Regions from separate parts of the Homo sapiens genome. Here all the other regions are linked to region 3. Evidence: promoter capture Hi-C in 16 types of primary human blood cells and fetal thymus (Javierre and others, 2016). All regions are on one chromosome and are shown on one strand. The core of a region is centred on a gene start or on the middle of the fragment in contact, and the rest is flanking DNA. Distances in the headings are between cores, read along the strand shown.

What was found. The method cuts DNA at HindIII sites, captures the fragments that hold promoters and counts their contacts. A CHiCAGO score of 5 or more calls a contact.
Region 1: a contact is called between a fragment that was not itself captured here and the fragment with the promoter of ACVR2A in region 3, in 3 of 17 cell types (M2 macrophages, M1 macrophages and activated CD4 T cells). The highest score is 7.4, in M2 macrophages.
Region 2: a fragment that was not itself captured here is called in contact with the fragment with the promoter of ACVR2A in region 3 in 4 of 17 cell types (M1 macrophages, M0 macrophages, naive CD8 T cells and 1 more); the score reaches 5.5 in M1 macrophages.
Region 4: a contact is called between a fragment that was not itself captured here and the fragment with the promoter of ACVR2A in region 3, in 2 of 17 cell types (M0 macrophages and activated CD4 T cells). The highest score is 5.5, in M0 macrophages.
Region 5: a fragment that was not itself captured here is called in contact with the fragment with the promoter of ACVR2A in region 3 in 1 of 17 cell types (M1 macrophages); the score reaches 5.0 in M1 macrophages.
Region 6: a contact is called between a fragment that was not itself captured here and the fragment with the promoter of ACVR2A in region 3, in 1 of 17 cell types (M1 macrophages). The highest score is 6.7, in M1 macrophages.
Region 7: a fragment that was not itself captured here is called in contact with the fragment with the promoter of ACVR2A in region 3 in 3 of 17 cell types (M1 macrophages, M2 macrophages and M0 macrophages); the score reaches 5.9 in M1 macrophages.

The regions. Positions count from the first base shown.
Region 1 is chr2:147,449,232-147,453,515 of GRCh38, forward strand. No RefSeq gene overlaps it. Among named protein-coding and RNA genes, the nearest start is that of ACVR2A, 390 kb to the right of the region's middle. RefSeq lists an enhancer at 170-685. The HindIII fragment of the contact is 1,701 bases long and covers 1,502-3,202 here.
Region 2 is chr2:147,359,549-147,363,458 of GRCh38, forward strand. No RefSeq gene overlaps it. Among named protein-coding and RNA genes, the nearest start is that of ACVR2A, 480 kb to the right of the region's middle. The HindIII fragment of the contact is 3,826 bases long and covers 176-3,910 here.
Region 3 is chr2:147,843,235-147,847,137 of GRCh38, forward strand. It overlaps ACVR2A (activin A receptor type 2A), which reads left to right and starts at 1,795. Exons shown (of 11, transcript NM_001616.5): 1 at 1,795-1,973. The coding sequence starts at 1,919. RefSeq lists an enhancer at 145-895 and silencers at 1,022-1,211, 1,292-1,401, 2,157-2,236. The HindIII fragment of the contact is 3,923 bases long and covers 1-3,019 here.
Region 4 is chr2:147,338,719-147,342,721 of GRCh38, forward strand. No RefSeq gene overlaps it. Among named protein-coding and RNA genes, the nearest start is that of LINC01911, 500 kb to the left of the region's middle. The HindIII fragment of the contact is 4,160 bases long and covers 11-4,003 here.
Region 5 is chr2:147,421,354-147,425,239 of GRCh38, forward strand. No RefSeq gene overlaps it. Among named protein-coding and RNA genes, the nearest start is that of ACVR2A, 420 kb to the right of the region's middle. The HindIII fragment of the contact is 5,932 bases long and covers 1-3,886 here.
Region 6 is chr2:147,376,005-147,380,103 of GRCh38, forward strand. No RefSeq gene overlaps it. Among named protein-coding and RNA genes, the nearest start is that of ACVR2A, 470 kb to the right of the region's middle. The HindIII fragment of the contact is 2,633 bases long and covers 952-3,584 here.
Region 7 is chr2:147,402,330-147,406,463 of GRCh38, forward strand. No RefSeq gene overlaps it. Among named protein-coding and RNA genes, the nearest start is that of ACVR2A, 440 kb to the right of the region's middle. The HindIII fragment of the contact is 1,339 bases long and covers 668-2,006 here.

The DNA of each region.
Region 1 (4,284 bases), core at 1,102-3,601, 390 kb before region 3:
GAGAATTGATCCATCTAGTTCTTTGTAAGGACTTAACTGCATGGCTAGCTCTGCTTCTCTATCTATACAGACAAATATGCCTTCTTTGTCTTTCATCAAATTGCAAACATTTGCTTAGAGAACTGGGTCTGGTGAGTTGACACTACCAAACACGGTGCCTTGTAGCTAACTGGCTTTGCTATAGTCAGCCAGGATGAAACAGCAGCCAATGAACCAAGCCTAAAGCACAGAAAGGAAAACGGCGCTGTGAAAGAAAGAGAATAAAGCACTGGGCTTTGCAAACTAGGCTAAGGCCCCAAACCACAAGATTATCTTGATGCATGTGATTGGGAAGGAGGACTAATTAGAAGAGAGGATGTCATTTTATTTTCTAACCAGCCCTCTCTGATCTGAAGCCATGACACCCCCTCACTTGTTACCTAGCAACCCTTCTTTGTATATGTAAGGTTACTTCATTCCTGCATTGTTATTCAATTTATTTGCCATTTTAAGTGTCTTGATCCTCTCTAGGATCACCCTGGTGTGATTGGCTGGCATTAGTCTCTAAAATACCGGAGGGCAGTCTATTAAGTGGATCCAAATGTCATTGTACAGCTCACTGTAATCTACAGATCTGTGCTAAACAAACGCTGTGGATTTCACCTTGGTCTTGATGATTTTACCAGAGCCCTCCCCCTACGCAGCCCCAACCAACCAGCCTCCGCCCAACCCAGAAAATGCTGTCATTGCTTTTATCTTGATTGAAAGAATATATGCAGGACTGGTTCCTTTAACTTAGTGGAAAAATGACTATCAATTTAAACATTAACTGATGCCCAATCTAACCACGAAGCTAAAAACAGAATTCACTTCAGCACATAGCAGAGTTTCTCAGAAAATCACCACCCTACTAAACTTCACAATTTCACCTAAACCCTAGCAATATGTAAATAGGTAATCAGCCACATTTGGAAATGTATTTTTTAATCAGGTAGTTTAGATGCATAATCACCTCCAAATCAAACTGCCATTAGAGGCCATTAACTCTTAAAGGAAGGAAACTCAGTTGGCAGTCAGAATTCTATCAGAGATAAAGAGATGCTGGCTCTACCTTTAATTCTTGTAAAATCCTGGGCTTGCACTTTTCTTCCATCTGCCCCTGTTTTTTTTTTTCTCCTTAAAAGAGAATTGTGATTCTTTCCTAATGCTAGATAAGAATTAGGAGGATCAACAAAACAATGAACACATAGCACTTGAGTTCTTAGAAAAGGACTGTTGCCTCTTTATCGTTACTATTTTCCCCTCAGTCAGTCACTTCAGAATTTTGCCTAATGTGAAAACTCCAAACACCTTCAGAATACCAATCCTAGTACATTCTAATATACACTATCTATATACAAACTAATATACATACTGATGATACAATTTACTGAAAGCAATTATACAGTATTATTCATTCTAAAATGACCCCCATTGCAAAAACCCACATCCATATTCATTGCAGTACTCAAGTAATTCTAAAAGCTTCACTGCCATTCTTTTGGGGTTTTATACTGAAAAGGAATTTGCAAGCATGTGTTGTCTACCTCCCACTGTGTGAGTTGGGGGGATAATGGCAACAGGTGGACCTAAGTCCTGGGATATGAGACAGTGGGATGTATGGCCTGCCAAATTTAGATAGCTCAATTAAAACAGCCCCATTCATCCATACCAAGAACAGAATGCGGAGAAGCTGGGGGAGGGAAGGAGGGAAAGCAAGCGCAGGTGACAGCAACTGTGGATTTTCTTCTCTGGGGTCATTAGCTATGTTTATATTTCTATAGCATAACTGTGTTACAAGCTAGCATGGCTATTTTTGCCTCTGCCTCATCATTCAGTGCAAAAGGGCAGAGGTGAGTGCCTATAAATTCACACAGCTGCTGGCTAGGAGAAGGCATTTGGAAAATAATTCAGTAACATGGGCCTTTATTTCACTGAAGGAATTGTTCTTTGAGGAACATTCCCCCTAAACCATGAGAGCACTCAGGTTCCTGCAAAACCTTCCCAGGCTAAAGCAAAGCACAATTTCTAGTTCTTGTGCCAGCCGGAGATATGCAAAGATTTTTCTCAGCAGGAAGTCACTCACAGACATCACATGAATATTTAAACAATGGGAAGCCAGCAAAAAGATTCTTTCACGCTGCAGGATGATAGTGACTTCTGAAATTATCACAATTATCATTCCATTATTGCAAAACAAATGACCTGATTTATTATGCTCTGCCTCTGCTCATATCTGGATCTCTTCCTGATATATTACACAACCAGTTACTTAGGCATTCTACACAAACAGCATTTGTATCGACTACTTCATTAATATTTTGATTACTATAAATCTCAGGGACTCAATCCACATCCTAGGCTAGAGTCATCTCTCCCCAGCCTCTCCCTCTGAAGAAGACGATGAGAGAATTTGAGAGTGGGATATGATGATATAGTCTACGGAATTCTGGGAAACGAGTTAGCTCATCACCTAAGTCTCCCTTCAGGGCAATATGCTCCTTGCTTACATCCCACAGCAGAAAAAATCAACAGTTCTTCAATCAGTGTAAAAAGAAGTTTACATTCAAGAAATCTAGGCGGAAATGCTACTCTCAACAATTCCAGTGCTACATGTAACAGTCCATCTTTTAAAAAAAAAAGTTTTCTGGTTGTCTTTTCTGTGAGAAGTAAAGATGTGGAAAAAAAGTCACGGAGGAGTTATAACAGTTAAGTAATTAGTAAAGTAGCAAGACAATACTAAAAGCCCGTTGTTTTTGTTTTCAATTATGTCCTCTTCTAAATCCTTCAGCTACCTTAGGCTGCTTTGTGCACCCTGTGTACCAACCTGTGACCCATCTGTAGGGAGAGCAAGTTTGTTTACCCTCTTAGCAAAATTCAGCAGAGTTGTCATATCCCACTGGTGACATGGTGGGACATGAGAGGAATTCTGGGACAAAACGTCAAACAACACACTTGGCAAAAGCAGATTATGATAACATGCATGTTGTAATAAGACAACTAATGAGCCATGAGTCAAATTCCCACTTCAGCCACTGGAACATTATCACAGTTTAAAGTGCTTGAAAAAGAGTGTGTCAGTGATACACTAATGACTTTAAGTGGGCTCATGTGTCAGGCTGGAGGTTGAAAAGAAAACTGCAAACATTTTTCATGTGCTGTGAAATGACAGCAAGTGATTTGAAGCTTTACCTGTCCAGTAACAACTTTAATCAACTCTTTCCTCATCTGGGTCTAATTTTTGCTCAGAGGGCACAGATGGTGATCTGCTCTCAAGGTGAATCTAAACTACATTGGTCCAGGTAAACTGCCAGTTAAACCTTTAGAGGAAGGAAGGAAGGAAGGAAGGAAGGAAGGAAGGAAGGAAGGAAGGAAGGAAGGAAGGAAGGAAAGGCAGAATTAGCAGGATTCCAAAAGCAACTGACCTTGTGGAACCTTGTGAAACTTCCATTACAATAAATATTATTGAACATTATATAGAATATTATACAAAAATGAGCAAGACACATTCCCAGTTCTCAAGGAGATGATAATATTGGAGAAATATAAAGAGCAAGAAGAATGAGGGTAATTCATTTGAAGGAGGTCACTATATACACTATATTCTACTATAATCTTCTTTGTTGATTGTTTATTGGAGAACTTCATTAGAACTATGTTCCCCAGACAAGAAGAAAGCAACTAAGAAGTAATTTCATTTTGTGATTTAGGGAGAAAAATCAGGCTACCATTCAAGAGCCATTTAGATAAAGATAAGAAACATAACTCTTAGCCCTATTCCAACTTCAATCCCAGAAATGAACATAGGAGAAGAAGTAACCAGAGAATTGGGGAGATTTGACAACTTGGTATGTTCTTATCTTAGTAGGCCACAGGGATTAGTATAGGATCCTAAGAAAGGGGTATTCCTAGTATAGTCATGAAAGGAGACTATCATGGATACAGTAAGAGCCTGGCTGGCCTGATCTAGAGGGAAACACAGTCTGCCACTTCCTTTACATCCTCTACATGGGAGGGAACATCCTTGTATCACACAAATGATGCTGAGAAATATTATTCAGCCACAGTTGCCTCCTCCATTTAAACCAACATATTCTCCTTGGAGGAGTGATACTTAAGAGAAGTGTATTTATTTCCTTTTGCATTGGGAAAGGTGCACAAGAACTTGAGCAGACAAAAGACAAAACTGAATCTTCTGCAAAACAGCAATATTATTTGGTAAAATATCTTCTCCAGGGGTATTTTTCTAACCAGAATCAAAACCAT
Region 2 (3,910 bases), core at 839-3,338, 480 kb before region 3:
CTAGTAACACCTACATTGGACTGATTAATGAACAAGAAATAAACTGCTATTGGGCTAGCCACTGAAACCTTGGAGTTGAGCCTAACATTAGTGTTTCCCTAATGCTAATATGAGAGCTAATATTACCTAAACTGTATGTAGGCACACAATTCCTGATGTTCCTTTGATGAATGAAAGCTTTCACTCAAATGTCTTTAGATCCACAAATGGTAACACCTGGGCAGTCTGTTATAGACTCAGGAGAAGCAAAAACCATGAAATTTTCCTCTTCTTTTCTCTTGTTCTTTCTTTTGATTTCTGTTTATTTGCATGTAATGTACCATTTTTCCTATACTCGTTTTGACTTTTATCAGCTTACGGAACTGTTCTTTGTGATTTTCCTATTGGATTACAAAGGTTGAAAGGTGATCTCACATGCCAGTCAGAGGAGTCTGAGGATTGCACTGTGACAACTTCCTCAACCCTGAAGTCAAGGTCCGAGCAAGAGTGAAAGCCAAGAAAGCAACCCAAAAAGATGGCAGCTGTGGGAACACAGATTAGGAAAGGAGTCATCTGAGCAGCAGCAAGAACAGTGGGAGGCATCAAACTTATCCAAACCCTGAAAAAAGGTTCAGAATCAGGTGGCTCCTCCTGTGACAGAATGTGAAGGAAATCTAAGACAGGCACACTAAGGGAGTGTCTGAAATTATTATCTCCGAGGATTCAGAGAAAATATGTGCAAGTACATATAAACTAGCTAATAACAGCAGGTAACCCAGAAGAATTGGCCTATGTTGGGTTCCACAGTTTTTTACATTTAACCCACCAGGCACAGATAGAGTGGGCGAGGATGAAGAGTAAATGCATTTTGATATTATACACTAACTGCAGATTGGTTCACACCCAGACCTGGCCTCATCCATGTGTATCACCCAGCACTGCATCCCAGCTGACACCAGGAGTGGTAAAAACAAAAAAAAAAACAAAAACAAAATCTCTAAATTGGATGGAATTTGAAACAACAGGAGATTGAATTTTTCTTTCTATTGTTTTTTTTCTTGGTAGTTCAAAAATGTGACATATTTATGGAGAAGTACAGATTGTTCCTATCCAAACACAGTAGTAGTTTCTTTTCTAAAAATAAACATGGCCAATTATATTTTAGGGAGATTTATTTTAATTTATCTTACTTTTAAACAAAAACATTTTAAAGAAAATTTCTAAAGACTTCTGAAATCTTATCATAGAACAAAACCCAACACTAAATATGACCGTGGGCATTTTTTATGGTACATAAACACTCTGCAGCTTTGTGTAAGTTTCACTCATTCTCATTCACCAAATATTTATTGAAAACCTACCATGTGACAATCACTATACTGGATGAGTGGAAGTCAAAGGCAATTAAAATCTGGCAGGTGAGTTTGTAAGGAACCTATACTGTAATGAAAGAGACTAACCAGAAACCCATTGATTATGGAGCCACATGACATACCTTGGTTTCCAAAAAGAGTTGAAACTCATTTTATACTCACCAAATACCTTAACAACTTGGTTTTATACCTCAATGAGGCAGTACTAATATTAATAATAATAATAGCTTCTAACACTTACTGAGCTATAATTATATACCAGGCAGACTAATAAATGTTTTACATAGATTATTTCATTTTATCTTTATAAAAACTATGAGGGAGGCAGAAAAATTAAAATTTGTCACAACTTTTCAGCTAAGGGACATGAGGCACAAAAGTATAGCAAATTTTCCAAGATCACATAGCTAGAAAGTAGTAAAACCAGAATTTGAATTCAGGTGGTTGGAGTTTTTCCAGGTGGCATCTAAATATGCCATATGAGGCATGATCCATTTGAACCAGATCTTTCCTACTAAGCTATGTTAGAATAGCTGGGCCCCGGAAGTACATTCCTCTGTACCTTCAAACTATCTAGGACTAGGGTGCCCCAGTCAGTCCATATCTATTAGCCAGCTAATATCTGGGGCACTGTTCGATACACAGTATGCATTATTGGATCTGCTGATTTAAATGGTCCAGTCAATTCCTTAATCCCTCCCAAAGGTCCTACTCATTCATGAAAATTTGCCAGATGGAAAACAATTGATTAATCTTAAGTTTTGGGTACTTCTGATTTGACCACTCTGGCCCAAAATGAACTTGTATCCCTGAGACATAAGCAGCTCCAAATTCTGAATACATACTAACCAACAAATTCTCAGAGGAAAATATCTACCAAGAGCCACTCACTTCAGGTGCTTCAGCATCTGTTACTTCATTCCTTTATTTATTCACCTGACAGTAGTCAGTGCCTACTAAGTGCTGGGCATTGTTAAGGCACTAAAGTTAAAACAGTAGATGTAGTTCCTACCCTTATGGAGAAATGGTCTACTAGGAAACACTATGACACATAATTCTTTGGCAATAGAATTTTATTTTGTAATTTTTTATAAACATTTATTTTAGTGTTCATACCAACCTGCAAGATGCGAGAAAAGTTCTTATGTCATTCATTTGTGAAATTATAACAGCTCTATTTGTTGCAGATATATTTGGTAGATGAACCACTATGAACAGGATAAAATGATTTGTCTAAATGAATACAGAATAGAATGTGGTAAGTCTGGAACAAGTTACATGACTATTCTGAACCATTAGACCCTGTAACTGACTTTAAGTTCACATGAAGTTAGTAAATCTAGACAATCTCTTCTGAAGTCATTTCAGTAAGTGTTTCTTATTCTTAAAATCCTAGTGAATTGAAGTTTAACTACCAGGTGACTTTAGAACTTCAGATTACAATAGAGATCAACTCTTTCTACAGCCCAGTCACCTTGCCTTTCCCCCACCAAAGTGATGGTTAAAAGATGAATGGTTTTGAATGCTGATTTTATTCCAGCCATTACCAAAAATATGTAGTTGACCTCTCCTCCATAGATGAGCCAAACTCTTCGCCACTGTACCAATAAATATTGGTGAATTTCTTTGCCTTACAAGGATATCTCCCTAAGAATGTTTCACTGCAAGCTGCCATGATGCATGCCAAAAGTAGCCAGAAGTAGAGAACTGCTCTGAGAGATTTCAGAAAGCCCCTTCTAGTCCACAAAACTATGAGAAAACTGCTTTCTAACATGGCCACCTTATCCTCCTCTCATCAACCTGTGGATAATGAGCACTGATTCTGAGCCCAACACTGCAGATAATGTGAACAGTAAGATATTATCCTCATCATAATGAATTTATAGAGGCAGAACTGAGAAGCAATTAAAGAAAAGAAAATAATAGATGAGCATAAAATTAATTGCCAAATTGAGTGATTCCACATCTAGGAAAAGGAAAAGGGAAAAGCACGCAACTTACATCCCAACCACTTTTGCTACCTTTTCTAAGTTGATCCTACAACAGCCTTTTAAAACAAGTGTTATTTTTCCCATTGTGACTTAGAGGTGATATACACATGATCACACAGTTAGAAGTAGGAAACACTGGCCAGGCAAGGTGGCTCACGCCTGTAATCCCAGCACTTTGGGAGGCTGAGGCGGGTGGATCACGAGGTCAGGAGATCGAGACTATCATGGCCAGCATGGTGAAACCTCGTCTCTACTAAAAATACAAAAATTAGCTGGGAGTGATGGCGCATGCCTGTAATCCCAGCTACTAGGGAGGCTGAGGCAGGAGAATCACTTGAACCAGGGAGTCTGAGGTTGCAGTGAGCCGAGATTGCGCCACAGCACTCCAGCCTGGCGACAGAGCAAGACTCCATCTAAAAAAAGGAGAAAAAAAAAAAAAGAAGTAGGAAACACTAAGGATTACACCCACATTTTTTCAACTCCAAAGTCCATGCTTTTTCCAGCCAACCGTAACAATGTATTTGATATCCTGTTAATAACATACTCTCCACAGTGGAAGTGGTGACT
Region 3 (3,903 bases), core at 545-3,044:
AAGAGAAAGGCAGTCATCCCTTAGTCATTTATACAATTATTTATTAAGCACTTATGTGCTAGTTGATACTTCTGGGTGCTGGAATAAAATAAGGAAAAAATCAAGATCTCTACCTTCACGAAGCTCACTAAAGTGTGGTAAATGACAGAGCAACTACCTTCAATAGTCTCTAGTTTGTATTCTGCAACCAACTGAATACAGCAAATACTAAAAGCTACTTGAGGTAGGGATCCATCCTATTTTTACCTGTTGGATCCCATTCCGTGCCTAGCACACCAGCTTGTAAGCAATCGACATGGATTAAGGGGTAAAAACAGGCCCTTAAATAGCTAAAATTTTGACAAGTAATCACTTGTCTGATCATCAAATATGTCGTTCGAAATCCTCATTTTTTTCTTCAAAGCGCAGTAAACAAGTATTTGCGCACCTATTACGTGCAAAACAGTTTTCAACACAATGCTTTGTGTGTAAAAGGAACGGCGGGAATGGATTCAAGTTGCGCATCGTGATAAATGGCGTGAATATCCTGAGCGGGTGGACAGCCCTTCCTCCGTGAGTTTTTTCTTTTTCTTTTCTAGTCACCAAGACAGCACGCGTGTGCAGAAGCTGCAGCGGTGGGACGCAGTGCTAAGTCTGGGGGCGCACACACCAGCTCGCGCGTCGCGAGCTCGCCTGGGCAGCTCGGCGGGCGCGGCGAAACAGCTCCCACGTCCGCCTTCCACCGACTCCTCGGTATCAGAGCGGACGAGGCGTCCCCCCAGAGGAAAGACTGGGCGCCGCAGACGCCCCTTGGAGAAGTCCCTGGCCACTCGCCCCACCTCGGGGTCCTCTTCCTCTTGGGCTTCTCCTGACCCTTTGGGTGGGCGCTCCAGACAGGCCCGTCGGACGCGATTTGGAAACGGGTCGTGCCCGGCCTAGCCCGCATCTACTCGCCCGGCCACAGCCCAGCCACAGCTTAGGGACTTTGAGGCGCCCGCGCCCCTTTGTCGCGGTATCTCTAGCCCAAGCAGGCCGGACGCCGAGGCCTCGCGGTATCGAGCCTCCGTCCGCCCCGCCTCCTCGCCCTCCACTCCGCCCCGCCCTCGCTCTCTCACCCCTCCCCCGCTCCCGCCTCGCTTCCCCGACAATCTCCTCGCGCTCCCGGCCCGGCACGCGCGCTGCGCCCGGCCGCCGCTGCCGCCGCCGCCGCCGCCGCCGCTGCCGCCGAGCGTTCCTCCGCTGCGCCTGGCTTCCAGCTTCGGGCCGGAACCGGAAGTTTGGGGGGCGGAGCCCGGCGGAGGCCAGGAGACCGAAAACGCGGCCGAGCCCGGAGCCCGGAGCTGGAGCCAGAGCCTGGACCAGAACTTGGCCGCCGCCTGCACCGCCGCCGCCGCTGCCGCCCGCCGCCCCTTCCCCGCGCCGCAGCCGCCTCGCCGCCACCGCCGCGAGCTCGGCCGCCAGTGGTCCTCGGACTTTAGGTGTCTGGGTTGAAGGTCGGTCCGGACATCGGACCCAGTCAGTTCCCAGACTGTCCGGGCGGCAGCGGACGCCGCTGCCGCCGCCGCCTCTTCGTCGCCTCAGCCTGGCGTTTTGTTCCGAGAGACGGGAGAGGCGAGCGGAGCTGACAGTGATTTTGACAGTGATTTAAACCCGCTTTTGTTGTTGTTGGCTTTTCGTTGTTTGGTTTTGTGTGTTGTGCGTGTGTGTGGCGGTTTTTCCCCCGTGGTGCATTTTATTTTTTATCGTTGTGCTCTTTTTTTTCTTTTTTTTTTTTAACCCAGTGAGCGTTTTTTTTTTTTTTTTTTTTTTTTTTTGGTCTGGGCTTCCGAATATGTTTTATGACGGTTGATTTTACACCAGGAGGTTTGTCTCCGAGGAAGACCCAGGGAACTGGATATCTAGCGAGAACTTCCTCCGGATTCCCCGGCGCCTCGGGAAAATGGGAGCTGCTGCAAAGTTGGCGTTTGCCGTCTTTCTTATCTCCTGTTCTTCAGGTAGGTGCAGGGAGCGCGGCGCGGTGGGGCTGCTCCTGCGGCCGCGGCGGCCGCTGCTGGGGGCCGCGGCTGGTGTTGAGTCGGAGAGTCCAGTGGAGCCTGGGGAGGTTGCCCACTCCCTGCGCCCCTCGGCTGCCACCGCCCCCCCCCCCCGCCCCCAGGTCTGATTGTGATCTGGAAACCTCCATGCATTTTTCTCTTTTTGAGTTGGGTCGGCGAGCTGATAAGAGTGAGTGCTGTGTTGTTGTGGAAGTGAGAAAGTCATGTTTTGTGGCCATAACACTGGATGACAGCGCTGGTTGGGTTGCAATTAAGCCGCAAATACCACAAGTGACAATTTATGCAAAGGTTGAGATCTGAAAGGAGTATTTAGTGTGGGCTCCTCCAAAACAAGGGTTGCTTTTTGTCATCGTTTAATTAGTGCTTCACCGGTGAATATCACGACATAGATCAAGCCAGTTGCTGCTTAATTTTGGCTGTGGGAAACAATACATCCTATCAGCAATTTAATCTGGGTCTCCCCTCACGTTTTCTTCAACTTCAGCGTCCAGCAGTGTTAAAAATAGTTGTAGTTGTTGTTGGAGTATTAACTATAACCCAGTGCAGAAGAGGTATGCCGCTTGGTATTGGTAATGTGCTGGCGTTCAACCACCATTTGTGTGCTCTTTTGGGGCATAGATTTTGCTTACCTACGGAATACTTATTTTAAACGCTTTGTATTGAAGCATTGTTTTCGGTTTAGAACAACCCATGTGAAATTGTTTTTGTTAAATATAGTACACTCATAAAATAGGTTTTAGCTCAAGGTTGGGGGAATAAACGGGCCATTTTATATTGGAAATTTTGATTTTGTGAGGACGTTCTATGGTTGCAACCAGTGGTTGGAAAAACTATCTAGTCTTTTGTATTTGAAATTCTATAAATAAATACAGCATCTAGCTGAAAGGTGTGCAGATGTACATAACAGGAGAGTTAGTTCAATAGATGAAACATTTTAAATAAGTCTCATTGGATCTATTTATTGTAAAATTTAATATTCAGTTACAAGCTTGTGGCATAGAATTACGGGGGACTCTTGGAAACGGGGGCGAATTGACAGGTTTCATGGCCATGTCTTTATCTCGTTTGCCACAGGAAAATTAAAGGGTGGTAGTCTTCTTTGTGTACCTCTGTGGGGTGTGTGTGTGTGTGTTTGTGTGTTTGTGTCCGTCTTCCCCACCCCCCTTTAAATATAATCTTTTGTAATGTATAGAATTTTGCTGAATGGTACATTTCCTTGTGGTTAATAAATGGATAAAGTCTAGTCTTATGTCTGTAGTGGTATTGATCAGTTCCGGGTGGGCTGAATGTGTTGTGAAATGGCGATCATTGCCAGAGATTAACCAAAAGAATCATGTCTGTTTAAATGGAAGAAGGAACATGCTTAAGGCAGGCTGACAGTTCTTTTTGTGCACGGTTTGGGAAGGAAGCTAAACAATGGTGTGTCTGAAATGAATGAAGGCCTTGATAACATTAAACCTCTTGCTTTTGTGACATGACTTAACCATGTAGTTTTTATCTTTCCAGTAGTACTCTTTTTTCCTCTGCTTCTATATGTTGTGGCTGGTGAACTCCTCTTGTTCAAATCCCTTGTTCTGATCTCTTGCCCTTGAGGAGGAGGGGCATCATGGCCACTGACCAAGGAATTGTGGACATTATTCCCTCTCAAACCCACCTGAGTCACACTAATTGATGAAGGAGGTTATTCTTGAGCAGTCTCAAGGTATTACTTCTTGAAAAGCAGGCTGTCGCTACAGATCTTACAGCTTCTTCTGCTTGGTTTGGTAGTAAAAATAATTGAGCATTAGTTTCTTGTGGGATTATTTTCATTGGGCCAGGATTATTTTCAGTGGGCCAGGAGGTTAATAGCTATAATTTTGAAATAAAGTGA
Region 4 (4,003 bases), core at 841-3,340, 500 kb before region 3:
ATGAGTCCCAAGCTTTAAATAACTCTTCTAGCCTTGTGGATAAGAATTTAATAAATATTGAGCAAAGAACTTTAGTGCTGCAGTATTTGGAGTCATAATAAAAAGTAGAGGTTAATTTTTACAATGTCAAAAGCAGCTTGTGATTAGTATAAAATGTAAATGTTAAACTACAGAATTTTTGAGTCCTCTAATAGCACCCAATTCCTTAATCAGTTTGTACCTGATGATCGGTTATCCCCCCATAATAAATTACTGGTAAGTAATAAGAAATCAGAGGCTTTTTGGTTAATTGTACCAAAGCCAAATCAAAAAAGTTGAGAGAACAAGCAGCAGTAAGATACAGTGGTCCATGTTCACTACAAATTGGAACGTAGGCTTTGAAAGCTCTGAAAACTTTTCTAAGGTCAAAGGCAAGCACTGTTTAACTTCCAAATCCAGGGAAGAATTTTTCTTCAAGAGGCAGTAAAATGAATTAATATCACTTGCCATTTGTAAAGCCAAAACATGATAAAGATTGCATATTTCCAGAATGCTTAATCTATTTTTAATAAATGTATATTACAGATTACATGAATTATATCTTAGGGAAGCTAGCAGCTAGCTTCTTTGATTCGATTCAATCTTTAAAAAATAACATTGCAAATTCTAATTTTGCTTTGATTTTTCTAAATAAAGTATTAATGTGTCAAAAGAACATCAAATTTCTGAAGTATTTCCCCATTTGCCTTCTGCTAATTTCATAGTCAGAATATCACAGATATAGGCCATAGACTTGGCATCAAAAGCAGTGGAATCAGATGTCATAATTGGCCTCAAAGCATGTCTAGATTTCAACAACAGTTCAATGGAGAACAGTAGGAAGAAAAGGCTGAGGCTAGGTTTCAAACTAATGGCTGTAAGTATCCAGCTTCCCAATTCACAAACAACCTGGCCCTTTCAGCTCTGATTTTGATGGGTATAAATGTGTAAAGGGTATAAGCTAATGGGTTGGCACATGACAATAGACTCTGACAAAGTAATGCAAACTCAGGTAGGAATGACTATCTTGTTGCCAGAGTAAGGGAGTCAGTTGATTTGAATTGAAATAGTAACCCAAAATTAGTTGGAGCCATAAAGACCTGGTCTCCTCTCACAGAGAAAAAGGTCTAGGGAGACAGGCCGGGCCCCAGCCAAAGGATTCTGAAGAGTCCTGCAGATGCCTAGCTATAGAAAGTAGGTAAATTATAGGGCTAGTAAGAAAAGGATTTGGCTTACTAAATATACTGATGATCAGGAGTGACTGGATGATAGTTTCAGGGCAGCAAAACTAAATGCAAACCCTACACTGACACCTAACGGGTTGCAATGTGTGGCTAAGGTCAGCTGAGGGAATGCACCGAGTTATGTCTGCAGATAGAAGAACTTAATAATCATAACCTGTGCAAGGCTGGAACAGGTAGTAACTGCCATTCTGAATGAAGGCACTTAACTAAAAATGTTCTTCAGTGAATGATGATGGCCTGTGCCTCATCGGGATTTATGGGTAATAAGATATTATGATAAGCAAAGTCAAGTTTTACAAGCTGTGAGATGAGAACTGACTGTAAATTCCTACCATAGATTCAGCAGAAGTGTTTCAAACACATTGTGTGATGTCTTATCCTACCATTAAAGGTGAGTTTCTGCACAAATAGTATATGGACTATACTATTTGTGTATAGTGGCTGGATGAAAAACACCTCACTTCGTTAAATATCTTAGAACATCTTCATCCACTGCCCACCAAAATTTTAAAAATTCCTAGTTGATTTTGAAATCACCGAATCCAATTGCAATTATATTATCTCTCCTTCATATGCTTCTGTTTCTTTGGTGAACATTTTAATAACATTTTATACATTTCTGTTAACTGGCTATTCTAATAGTATAAATCCCAAGAACCATTTTAAGTTCTTTCTGAAAAGCACTTTGCTTTCCTTGAACTGTTTGTCTTGTCTTCTATTCAAACAAGGGACCTGTTTGGAAATAAAATGATTCACAAGCCAGTTCCTGGAGTATTAACTGGGTAATCACTATGATTAGCCTCAACCACTCTGACAAAAACAAACAAATAACTTGTACACAAATACTATATTGAAAATATACCTTTACCAATAATTGATATATTACTGCCTGAATTTACTTACTAGATTATATTTCAGATATTGAGCCTTTGTTAAGAACTGTTGTAGATATTGCAATGTCTTAGGGTATTTTACCAGGCGAGTGCATATCCAGTTGATTTACAAGATATCCATATCCAGCTGCTATATGCGTTTCTTAGGATTCCTTTTATTGCAAGTGATAGAAACCCAGTGAAAACTAGTCTGAGCCACCCCCACCAAAAAAAATAAAATGATTGGTTATGAAAATGATCAAAATAGCAGCAGATGTGGCTGCATTTAATTTGAAATTTGGTCCCTTATTTTCCAGGTTACAAAGTAAAGTATTTTTATTTTTTAAGATCATAAATCTTAAGGTTGGCTGATCCAGAAAAAACCACTCTAATATAAAGCCTGCCAATAAGGTAATTCTACAAGTTAACTCCTTTGATAATTTTTTGAGATGCCATAATTGAGAAGCTGCATTAGTATGATGATTTTCCAATATCCATACAGAAAAATGTTATATTATCCTGTTGTTTATACTAAAAGATCAGGATCGTTATATCTCTATTGTGGGCAATTTCCTTAAACATCCTCTTTTGCATGTAACATTGTTTGCTTTGCATTTATTTATATGAAATAATCTTTCCTAACCCTGAAATTTTGATTTCATTGGACTTGAACATACATTCTCACCTTTTCCTTCATCTTTCTAAGTGGCTTTTAAAAGTAGGTCTCTTACATTCTGTGTAGAGATGGGTTTCACTTTTTTTCTTTGTTTTGTTTTTAACAAATCTAGTCGTCTGCTTTCTTCCTGTTGTTTCTTAAATTAGGCAACTTTATTTATTTATTTATTTAGAGACAGAGTCTTGCTGGAGTGCAGTGGTGCAATCTCAGCTCATTGCAACCTCCGCCTCCCGAGTTCAAGCAATTCTGCCTCAGCCTCTCAAGTAGCTGGAATTATAGGCACCCGCCACCATGCCCGCCTAAATTTGTATTTTTAGTAGAGATGCGGTTTTGCCGTGTTGGCCAGGCTGGTCTCGAACTCGACCTCAGCTGATCCACCCACCTCAGCCTCCCAAAGTGCTGGGATTACAGGCATGAGCCACGGCACCTGGCCTAACTTTATTTTCTTTATAGTTGAATTGACATTGTTATTCTGACATAATTTTGGATTTACTTGTTATTTCATATTTGTAGCTTGTATTTTTAAACATTAGGTGTGTGTTGTCATTGTTGTTTCATTTTATTTTGTTGTCTGTTTGTTTTGATCCAGAAAAGTACTTTTTCTTTGACACTTGGTAATTTGAAAAGTGAAATATTTCTTCCCTTTTCACCCATTTCCCACTAGTGTTTTAGTTAACTCCTCTGGAATTTTCATGCCAGGACATCTTTATCAAAATATTATTGTATTACCCACCCAGTATATGCCCCCACTCGATTTCATTCCTTACCTTTCTTTATAGTTTTATCATATACACATATGTAAGTGTGCAAGCACACTGACACATAAATATGCTTTCTTAATCCACTATTTGATTTTGGCTGTTTTAGGATTCATATAATGCAATCATTCCATATGTATCATTTTAAGATTCCTTTCTCAAAATCATGCTTTAGAGATTCATCCAGATTGATGTGTGCAGCTGCAGTTCATTAATTTCCACTGCAGTAGAGAATGCTACTGTAGGAAGACAGCACAAATTGTGTAATCATTTAACTGGGTCTGGATATTCTTGTACATATGCAAATCTCCTGGTAGTGGTTACTGTATAAAAGTTTCTCCGGTGTGCATAATATGCATAGTTATGAGTTATTTTGATAATCAAAGGGGTATAGTCATGGTCATCTTTATAAGATAAATGCACTATGTTCCCAAA
Region 5 (3,886 bases), core at 1,026-3,525, 420 kb before region 3:
AAAAAAAAAGATTTGAGGAAGCCAAGTTGCAGACTTGCTTAAAAGACAGTGTCCTTGACTCCACTCACCAGCTCACTAAGTTCCAGGCTGCTGGCAGTGGGATGGAGCTGGGCAAGATACATTGTCAGAACAGAAGGCACAAGATGTGTGTGCATGTGTGTGTGTGTGTGTGTGTGCATCTGTATGTGTTTGTGTGATGTGTGTGATTGCCAACTTTTTGCCTTCCAAAACAAACTCAAAAAATGTCTGAATTTTCTATGACCTCAAAAGACCTGTTATCTATTTATTCTCCCTTTAACAAAAATAAAATATAGGCATGCAAAGAACATGGTACCATGAATACAGCCTGGTGTGAAATCTTAGGAAAATGCGAGGAAATAGAATAGTGCTCAACTTTTAGCCAATGTGAGATATGAAAAATATTCATGCAGTACATATTGGTAGAATCCATCCAGAGGCACCTGTAAAACAAATTTGGAGAAAGCCCTCTATGTTAGGCCGGTTTTTATTAAACAACTGTTTTTCAAGCTCATGCTCCTCTTTAGGAATATTTAGGTATTAAAACCTTGATTTCTCTAATATTTAAGGAGCCATTGCCCTTGAGTGTAGATCTGTGTAGACGCAACATTTCATGGCAGACAACCATCTATTTTAATTTTACTGTTAAATACAGCTATATTTCCAACTAGACACTTCTATCTGGGTGTCCTTATAAAATGCAAACTTTTAAAACTATTCTCACAATCGTTTTCCTCAAACTAAGATCTACTATAGCATCTCTTTCAATAAATGGCATAACCACATGCAATCTTCCAAGCTGTAAACCTTGTTCCCTGGTCAGTTTCCCTTCCTTCTCATCTGCACATCATGTACTCCCATTGATTTCACCTCCATAACATGCCACATATAATTGTCCTTTGCTCTAGCCCCATTGCTGTTATTTCAGTCCAAGTAAAAAGGTAACAAGGGTCTAGATTCTTCCAGAGGCTCTCTCAGGAACCCATGGGATAAAGTCCCAGGTCCCAACCATGGCCTGCATGGCTCTTACTTTATGGTCTAGTTTCCACCTAGTTTTCCAGACTAGGCTACTGAAACCTAATTCCAGCCACACTGAACTTCTTGCAGCTCCCCAAATCCCATAAAGTCTTATTGCTGTCTATACTTTCGCTCTTTTTTTGTACATTCTGCATAAAATGCACTTTCCCCAGCCCTATCTTCATTTGTTTCAAAATTCAGCTTAAACACCACCTCCTCTGTGAAAGCTCCTCAATTCTCATAGACTCGTATGCCTGATTTTCATCTAGTAAATTTTCTTTACTAGATGAAAACTATTCCTACAAAAATGGAAATTAGATGTTAAGTGTATAAATGATAGGCAGCTTCTTAAGGAGGAAAAAAAGGTGAAAACGAATTTTTAAAGGAAAAAATGGCATTACTCTTACCTTTATGATTATTGTTACTATTATCTGTGGCCTTTTGTTTATAATTTAATGTTTTTCCCATTCCTAGTTTATTTTTATTTATTTTATTTATTTTTATTTTTATTTTATTGAGATGGAATCTCGCTCTTGTTTCACAGGCTGGAATGCAGTGGTGTGATCTTGGCTCACTGCAACCCCTGCCCCCGGGGTTCAAGCAATTCTCCTGCCTCAGTCTCTGGAGTAGCTGGGATTACAGGTGCCCGCCACCACACTCAGCTAATTTTTGTGTTTGTAGTAGAGACAGGGTTTTGCCATGTTGGCCAGGCTGGTCTCAAACTCCTGACCTCAGGTGATCTGCCCGCCTCAGCCTCCTAAAGTGCTGAGATTACAAGTATGAGCCATCATGCCTGGCTCCCACTACCAGTTTAAAAATTATGTACTCTGTTCTTGTTATTTTATTTTTCACCTTTGAAATTTTATTGTGTATGCTTAATAAACTCCAACATAAATTAATATCTTAATCCTTTTCCTGAACAATACAAGGACTTTAAACCCATTTTAAAGACTCCTAATCCACATATTATTGTTGTCCAGTATTTTAAAAGTAAAATGTTTTTTTCTTTTATTCTACAAATCAGTTGCTATTATTATGATTATTTTATGAGACTTTATTGATACATGTTTACCCATTACCGCCCACCAGTTCTTTCTTTTTATTGGCGCAATCATTTAATTACATTGCTGAAACCCTGCCATTTTTTAAATACAAAAATGTTTCTATTTCCCTTTATTGTTGAGAAACAGTTGTAAGATAGTGTTACTAAGTACTCAATTTTAGGTTGGCAACTAGGTTAGTTAGTAGCCCACATAGACAAGAAAAAAATAAAAGATGGTTTAGTGTGATGATGAAAAAAAATTTTCACTCTATCCCATTCATCTTGCAATTTACCTTATCACTATTGAGTGAAGGGACGCCTGGTTTGAAGACTATATTGAAGAATAGTTATTGCTGCCTCTGCACCAGTCTGGAGTGCTGCCTTTAGTAAGCTCCCTAAGACTCAGCGCTGGTACTCTTCCTAGTAGGTTGTCTAACCCACACCTGAACAAGGGCAGCAATGCTCTATTCACAAAATGTATGCTAATACTATGACGGGAAAATCAGATTCAAAATTTTCTTTACTAGATGAAAACTATTCCTACAAAATGGAAATTAAATGTTACTGTATAAATGATAGGCAGCTTCTTAAGGAAAAAAAAAAGGTGAAAAGGAATTTTTAAAGGAAAAAATGAGAAGTATAGTTAACCAAAGTTGTATACGAATTTTTTTTTATTTTGGGTTTTCTTTTTTTTTTTTAACAAGTCAGACACCTTTAGATTATTATATCCCATTTAAGTCATCAATCTCACTCTCACAGAGTATGGATATCAGGGAGAAATTTCAGAAAAGAATTACAAAGAGTACCTAAGGAAGGGGAAGTTAGAGAATTTTAGGCTAGGAAAGAGATGTCAAAATCACAGCAAGGAGATGACTAGTGATTTGAGATATACTAAGAAGTTAATATAAAGGATATTCAAGTTCTCCCCGTCAGTGATAGACCAAAATCAGAGAATATTGTCAAAATCAAAGAGGAAGAGATTTGGGTTTAGGAAAAAGAGTCGTTTGACTTCTTGAGTGATAAAACTCTGAATGATTACTTAGCAAGGTTATGCAACTTTCCAAGAGGGATTGAAAACTGTCTATTTTGAAAGCCTTAAGCACTCAGCTTCCTGCAGGAAGGCACATGCATCATATACCTTCTCAAGAGTACTTCAGTTCTATGAGTTAATGGCATTATCTTATATTCATCATATACTTACACAGTGTGCTGAAAAGCACTATAAACTCTATGCTTATTTAATACTCTCAAGTTTCTTCTCCAGAGCGAAAATATCACAACAGGTTTAAACTCTCCTCATAGCAGATATATTTGATGTCTTTAACCATTTTTGTATCCACCAGCCAGACCCTCCTCAATTTCTTAGTAACTTCTAATAAATATGGAGCACCAAAAAATACACAGCTCTTCAACAAGATCTCAAGCAATGCCAAGTCAAAATAGGCAGATTACCCCATGGCTTCTGCATGTCTTACATCTATTAATACATCCTAGAATCATGTTTGCACTTTTAATAACAGCACTAGGCTGCTGACTCACATTCAGTCATGTCTACTTCCTTTGTATGTACATAATTATTCCCTGTCTTGTGTCAGCTTGGTTGGTTTTTATCCGTAATCTCAACCTGTTTAGCTTGGCCACTCTAAATTTTTAAGTTTATTGAATTGTTTTTCAGGTTTCCCTGTATCAATAACACTGCCAAAATGAGGACTTTGTTTTCTAACTTTCAAATAATCAAGCATAAGGGGAGTTGGGGAAAGTTCGATAATTTTTTTTTTTTTCAATTATTTGGGAGGCTCTCTGCTAGCT
Region 6 (4,099 bases), core at 1,018-3,517, 470 kb before region 3:
CATCCTACACTAAAGCTCAGAACTTTACCATTTGCCTCTCTCATACATTTATATAAATCTGTCCCTCTCCCATGTGAAGAAAATTTAATTTTGTCAAGCAAAATTAATTTTGAAAAACTTAAAGTTTGCCATCCTTCAGATTCATTTCCTGAGATAATCCCACTAAAGTTCCATTAGTGTCAATGGAAATCTTGTACCTGATGCCAATAGCCTTTGATCCCAAAGGCCCTCAGCAATTATTTCAATTTGTATTAAACTTCTGTTATAGGATGAGGTAAAGTGTGTGTGCATGTGTGTGTGTGTGTGTGTGTGTGTATTTGAAAATTCATTCATTTTTTGCTATTCACACTGGTTATTCTGCAGTTTTCTCATACTCTGTCTTCAAGTTATGCTAAAGACATGGTCTTGCATAGAATTTGCTTATGTTTTTCTTATGGTTGAGGAAGGAGATTTTTGCAGACGTTAGCTCAGCCACCACCATGGCCCTAAACTACATGGATGGCCAATAAATTTATCTTGAATATGGTGACTCAGTAGTTTAAAGAAGGCAACTTTTCTAAGTTAATTTCTAATTTTATCATGGTCCCAATCAAATTTCTGAGGTATTCATTTGGGGACTTATTCATTTAGGGTGTGGGTTTTTAAATAGCAGATTGTATCTGAAAATTTATTTTAAAGATCATTCACTAATGCATTTTTCAAAGAAAATAAATTAGTCAAGATGTCTATAAAAATGCATATGGATGAGGGATAATAATGATGAAGATAATATATATCATGTATTACTACAGGTATGTGATAAATATATCATTGAAAACTCAGAGAATAAAAAAGAAGTTACTTAATAAAGAATGCTAGCACAATTGCCAGGTGATACACACAGAAAGAAAATTGCATCCCTATCTTACCCCACCTGCAAACATTTCAAAATAATCAAATTTCTAAATATAAAGCTTAAACAAATAAATGAATAAAAGTACAATAAAAACCAGATTGCTCTTTATATAATATTAAAGTGGAGAAGGTTTTGCTATGCATATCATAAAATTTGAAAGACATAAAACTGCATATAAAATTAAACATTCTTCATAGCAATTAATATCATAAACAAAGTCAAAACACAAGGAAGAAATACTTGAAAACATCTGTCAATGAGATATTTTCTTTAAGACATCAAGGTTTCTCACAAATTGATGAGAAGATCAACAAACCAATAGAAACGTTTACACAAGATATAAATGGTTCACAAGAAAAACAAAATATTTGCAAACTAACATAGCTAAAGGTGTTCAACTCAAAATTAAACCTAAGACAAAGTTTGACACCTATGGGATTGACTTTCTCTAGGTTCCTCAACTCTTCAATTTTCACCTTCTCTTCACTTTCTGGGTGGACTCAACTACACCTCAGACATCAATTATCACCTGTGTGCCAGCCAAATGCTCATCACAGACTGTCTTCTGAGTTCCAGACCCCTCTTCTCTTCCTCCCCATAGTTTAACAGTCACCAAGAGCTTCCAGTTCTACCTCTTTCCTATCCCATTAAACCAAGTTTTCCCAAATAGAAGACAGCAATCTTTAGTTTGTCATGAAAGCAATTTAACAGGATAGGAACAGCATTTTAAAAAGAAAATATTACTAAGTGAATGAAGCTAATCTGAAAAGGCTGCATACTATGTGATTCCAACTATATGGCCTTCTGGAAAAGGCAAAACTATGGAGACAGTAAAAAGATCAGTGGTTGCCAGTGGTTTGGAGAGATGGAGGAATAAATAGTACACAGGGGATTTTTACACCAGTGAAACCATTCTGTATAATGCTATAAAAGTAGGTATATATAATTATCCACTTTTTAAAAACCTATAGAATGTACACCACAAAGAGTGAACCCCAACGTACATTACAAACTTTGGTTGGTTAAAAAAATATATAATAGAAGCTGGGCGGCCAGGCGCGGTGGCTCATGCCTGTAATCCCAGCACTTTGAGAGGCCGAGGCAGGCGGATCATGAAGTCAGGAGATCGAGACCATCCTGGCTAACACGGTGAAACCCTGTCTCTACTAAAAATACAAAAAAAAAAAAAAAAAATTAGCTGGGCATGATGGCGGGTGCCTGTAGTCCCAGCTACTCGGGAGGCTGAGGCAGGAGAATGGGGTGAACCCAAGAGGCGGAGCTTGCAGTGAGCCGAGTTCATGCCACTGCACTCCAGCCTGGGCGACAGAGCAAGACTCCATCTCAAAAAAAAAAAAATACATATATATATATATATATATATATATATATATATATATATATATATATATATATATGTAAAATAGGAGCTGGGCATGGTGGCTTACACTTATAGTCCCAGTTACTCAGGAGACCGAGGTAAAAGGATTACTTGAACCCAGAAGTTCAAGGTTGTAGTGAGCTATGATCATGCCACTGCACTCCAGCCTGGGCAACAGAGCAAGACCCTGTGTCAAAAAAAAAAAATTGTGTATCATGGGCTGAATTGAGTCATCACAGAATTCATATATTGACTTCCTAACCCCCAGTACCTCAGAATGTAGCTATATTTGAAGATAGGGTCTTTAAAGAGGTAATTAAGAGAAAATGAGTCATATGGGTAGGTCCTAATCCTATTATGACTGGTGCCCTGATAAGAAGAGGAAATTAGGAATACAGACATACACAGGAAAAAATCATCATAAGATACAAGGAAAAGATGATCATAAGACAAGGAGAATGGCCTGGAACAGATCCTTCTCTCATGGCCCACAGAAGACACCAATCCTGCCAGCACCTCGATCTTGGACTTCTATCTCCAGAACTGTGAGAAAACAAATGTACTCTGTTTAAGCCACCAGGTCTACTGTATTTGTTTCAGCAGCTCTAGCAAACTAATACAAATAGTGTAGCATGGCATAGCATAATACAGGATAGAAATTAGAGTACATCACAGGTAGTGGAAGTAAATATTGTTCAGTAAAAACATTAGTTTCTGATGGGGGCTCTGTATATGGAGTCATGTATGTCTATTTCTTAAGATAGGTCATGATTAGAAAAGTTTAGAAAGCACTGATCTAAATGATCTGCTTTTTATCCTTCTCCATTACCAATACCTTAGTTCAGGCCTTCATCATTTCTTACTGAAATTACCTAAAAAATGTATTGCATGATCTGTGCATTTATTCCTCTATTCAACAAATACATATTGAGGAATTACCATGTGCCAGACACTGTTTAAGGTATCTCCAAGACCTTGAACACACCCTGCTCTCATTCAGTCACAGTCTAATGTCTCCACTGCAGGTTTTGTTTTCTCTATATATCCATTCTCCACAACCCTGAGAGAAGTCCTTCTAGAATACATATTTGATCACTCTACTCTGCTCAAAACCCATTAGTGGTTTTCCAACAAGTTTTGTGAAAAGTGTAAACACTCTGAGCTCATGAGAGCTTTCATGATCTGCTGCCTGCTTGTATCTCTCATATTTAACAGCTCTCGCCTATACACTATGTTCCAGATATATTAAATGATGTACATTACACCTCCCCACATATCACGTGCTCTCTCAGAACTTTGTGCTTTTATATAAGCTTCAGCTTCTATCCTCCTATCTGCCTTTCACTTTGATAACTCCTAATTATACTTCAAAACACAGCTCAGCTGCAACTTACTATCCCCCAATGTCTCCTTTCTATTAACACTTCTACCACTTCATCTTCACAAAACCTAGACTAAATTAGCAGCCTTACCACATCAAGCTAATTGTTTACTTTTTTGCCTATGTCTTTCATTAGTTTCGTGAGTCAATGAGAATAATCATTTTGAGGCTTTTCTAGCTTTTTCTACATGTTAGCACATTTCCTAGTACATAAATGAGTAGATGAAAAGAGGATGGGTGGATAGATGGACAGATGCACAGCTGTTTACATGGGAATCCTTTCAGTCATTAATAATTCATCAAAATGTTTTTAGAAATGAGCATAATAGACAAAACATGCTGTGCTATGGCATGCAGAGAAGTGATAAAAATTATAGAAAAGTATAAATTGCAATAAGCCAAATAAGAGATTTTACAAAGCTATATTATTACCTACCTTGCATTT
Region 7 (4,134 bases), core at 87-2,586, 440 kb before region 3:
GGCATTATGGCTGATTTTTATTTTTTCCCATGTTCTTTTATATTTACCAAATAGTCTATAAAAATATGTAATATTTTTATAATTGAAGAATTACATATTTTTCTATAGAAGAATATACAGTGAAAATTGGGGACTAAGCACAGTAGTGCATACCTGTAATCCCAGCACTTTGGGAGGCTGAGATAAGAGGATTGCTTGAGCCCAGGAGTTACAGACCAGCCTGATCAACATAGTGAGACCCTTTCTCTATGCAATTTAAGTAAAATAAAATTTTTAAGTAAAAAGAAATTAGAAAAAAAGAAAACTTGGGGGAGGGGAAGACAGTTAATAAAATGGTCAGTGCATTGTCTTTGTCAGTGATAGGTTTAAGGACATGGCCCTTTGACCCAATTTTGACCAACAGAATACAAATAAAAATCTGCTGAGAGGGAGCGTTTCTGGAAAATATTTTCCTTCTTGATGAAAAAGGGGGGAAATGGAAAAAAAAATCTTTGCTTCTTTCTTTGTCAATTTTAGATATGGCTATGTAAAAAAATTATCCCACTACAAAACATCTGAAAATTGCTCATCTACTATACTGCCAGAAAAAAAAAAACCTCTATTCTTCTCTCATTATAAAGATTTGTTTATTTTTATAACATTATTTGGAATTTTTAAAGATAATTTAAGCTTTTGTTTTAGATTGCAGATTTGTTACATGGGTATATTCTATAACACTGAGGCTTGGGGTACAACTGGTCCTGTCACCAGGTACTAAGCATAGTACCCACTAGGTAGTTTTTCAGCCCTCACTCTTCTCCCTCCCTCTCTGTTCTGGTAGTCCCCAGTACTTATTGTCCCTATCTTTATATCAATGTGTACCCAGTGTTTGGCTCCTGCTTATAAGTGAGACTAGGCAGTATTTGGGTTTCTATTTCTGTGTGAATTTGCTTAGGATAATGGCCTCCAGGTGCATCCTGTTACTGCAAAGGACATAATTTCATGTTTTATGGCTGCACAGTATTCCATGATATGTATGTACCACATTTCCTTTATCCAGTCCTTCACTTATGGGCATCTAGATTGACTCCATATATTTGCTATTGTGAATAGTGCTGTGATGAACATACAACTGTATGTGTCTTTTTGGTAGAACAATTTATTTTCCTTTGGGTATATACTAAGTAATGAGGTTGCTAGATTGAATGGTAGTTCTGTTTTAAGTTATTTGAGAGATCTCCAACTTGCTTTCCACAGTGGCTGACCTAATGTCTATTCCCACCAACGGTGTACAAGCATTTAAGATTTGGGAATTTAAAATCTTATTTTCAATCTACTCTTGTCTTACCTTAACTTTTATAAGATGCTCTTTAGTATGATGACTCCTACTGTTCTTTACACCTGAAAGGATTTAACCAGTTTTTATCCTGTGAATTTCAGTTTTTCAAGACCAATTCAGATATAATCTTCATTATAAATTATCTTTAACATTTTGAGAAATAAATTCTTTCGGATTTATTTTTTGTTAATCAGCCAACTAATTTCATTAGAAAACTCTTGCAAAGTATTAAGGAACAGGTAGTCCTATGTGCAATAAATATTCAAGAGATACAACTAGAAAACTTATATAGATTCTGATAATATGGAATAAAGATGCATTTTCTTATTCCTCTCACTAAGTACAACTAAAAGTTCTGGACTGTAAGACAAACATTAGTGAACTAAAAAATGGAAAGAAGAAGACACACTGAATAGGACCTTCAGGACTCAAGAAACAACATGGTGATAAGTTCCCTGGGTTTTCTTTATGCCTCATATATTCCAGAGTTGGACCTAAGAAACTGACAACCTCAAAGAAGTAATAGCTGAAAATTTCCCAAATTTTGCAAGAGACATAGCCTACAGATTTAAGAAGCTAAGCAAACCCAAAGCAGGAGAAATACTATGAAATCACACTACAAAACATCATAGTCAAAATTCTATAAACAAAGACAAAGAAATCCTAAAAGTAATGAGATAGAGACAAAAGCTTACCTATATTAAAAAATAATAAATCAGAGACAATGGATTTCTTATCAAAAACTATGAAAGCCAGAAGGAAGTGGCACAGTTTTTCGAATACTGAAAGAAAACAACTATCAACCAAGAATAATGTATGCAGAGAAAATATCCTTCAGCAATAAGGGGAACTCAAGACATTCTCAGATGAAGTAAAACTAAGAGAATTTGTCTTCAGCAGACCTGTCCTAAAAGAATGGCTAAAGAAAATTCTCTTAACAGAAAATAAATGATAAAAGTAGAATCCTCGAAACAAGAAGGAAGAACTTTGTAAATAAAAATATGGATAAATGCAATATACTTTCCTTTTTAAAATTTTCCCAAATCATGTTTGACAATTGAACCAAAATTATAACACTGTCTGATATGGTTCTAAATGTATGTCAATGAAATATTTAAAACAATGCTGATGGAAGAAATCAATGATCTAAAGAACAGGAGAGATATACTGTGTTTAAGGATAAAAAGACTTTACATAGTAAAAATATTAGTTTTCCACAAATTTATATGCAAGTGTAATGCAATTCCTATTAAAATCCTTGCTCATTTTTCATAGATATAGACAAGATTATTCAAAAAATAATATGAAAAGGCTAAAGAAGTGGAATAGTTAAAAACAAATTGCAAAAGAAAAATAATGGAAGAGTAAAGAGTCTACCTGATTTTAAGACTTTTTGTCTGGCTGCAGTAGTCAAGACTGTGTGATACTAATGGAGCAATCTACACACAGATCAATAGAACAGAAGAGAGAAACCATAAAGAGATCAACACAAATATGTCCAATTGAATTTTGACAAAGAAGCAACAACCAATGGAGTCTTTTCAACAAAAGGTGCCAGAACAACTGGACATTCATAGGCAAAAATAATAGTAATCTTGTCATAAACCTTACACCTCACACTTATACAAATTTGCGTAACCTTGCACCTTACACAGATTAACTCAAAATGCATCACAGACTTAAAGGTAAATTGTACAAGTATAAAATTTGGGGGAAAAAATTACAGGAGAAAATATTTGGGCTCCAGGTCTTGGCAAAGTGTTTTTAGACTTGACAACAAAGCATATATATAAAGAGAAATATTAATAAATTAGACCATGAAAGTTAAAAACTTTTGCTCTGAGAAAAAACTATATTAAGAGAGTGAAAAGACAAACTACACACAGGAAGTAGGTATTTGTAAACCACATATCAGACAAAGAACTAGTATCTATAATAGTATATATATAAAGAACTATCAAAACTCAATAGTAAAAAAAGCTGAAATCAAACAATACAACTAGAAAATAGGCACAAATGAGTGAACAAATAGTTCACCAAAGAAAGTAAATAGATAGCAAATAAGCATATGAAATTATGTCCAATATAATTAGCTATAGGGAACATGCAAATTAAAACAACAAGACATTATTACATGCCTATCAGAGTGGCTGACATTGAAACAGAAAGTGATAGCAGTAAATACTGGCAAGGATAACAAGATACTTGATCACTCACATGCTGCTGGTGGAGTTATGAAACGGTGTAGTCACTCTACAAAACAATTTGGCAGTTTCTTTAAAAAAACTAAACATGCAACTGTTATACAACCCAGGAATTTCAGCCACTTGCATTTATAACAGAGAAATGAAAACTTATGTTCATGCAAAACCTTTATACAACTGTTCATAGTAGCTTGTTTGTAATAGCCAAAACTTGGAAACAACTCAGATGTCCTTTCACTGGGTGCATAATAATTAAAAGAACTGATGCACACCTATCATACACTGCTATTAAGCAATAAAAAGGAACAAATTATTGATAAACACAGTAACCTGTAGGAATCTCCGGAAAATTATCCTGAGTAAAAAAGCCAATCCTAGACATAGACAATGTGGTACATTTACACCATGGAATACTATGCAGACATTAAAAAGAACGAAACCATGTCTTTGCAGCAACACAGATGGAGCTGGAGGCCATAATCCTAAGTGAACTAATTTAGAAACATAAAATCAAATATCACATGTTCTCACTTATAAGTGGGAGCTGAACAATGGGTGCGCATGAACATAAAGATAAAAATAATAGACACCGGGGCTTCCAAAATGGGAGAT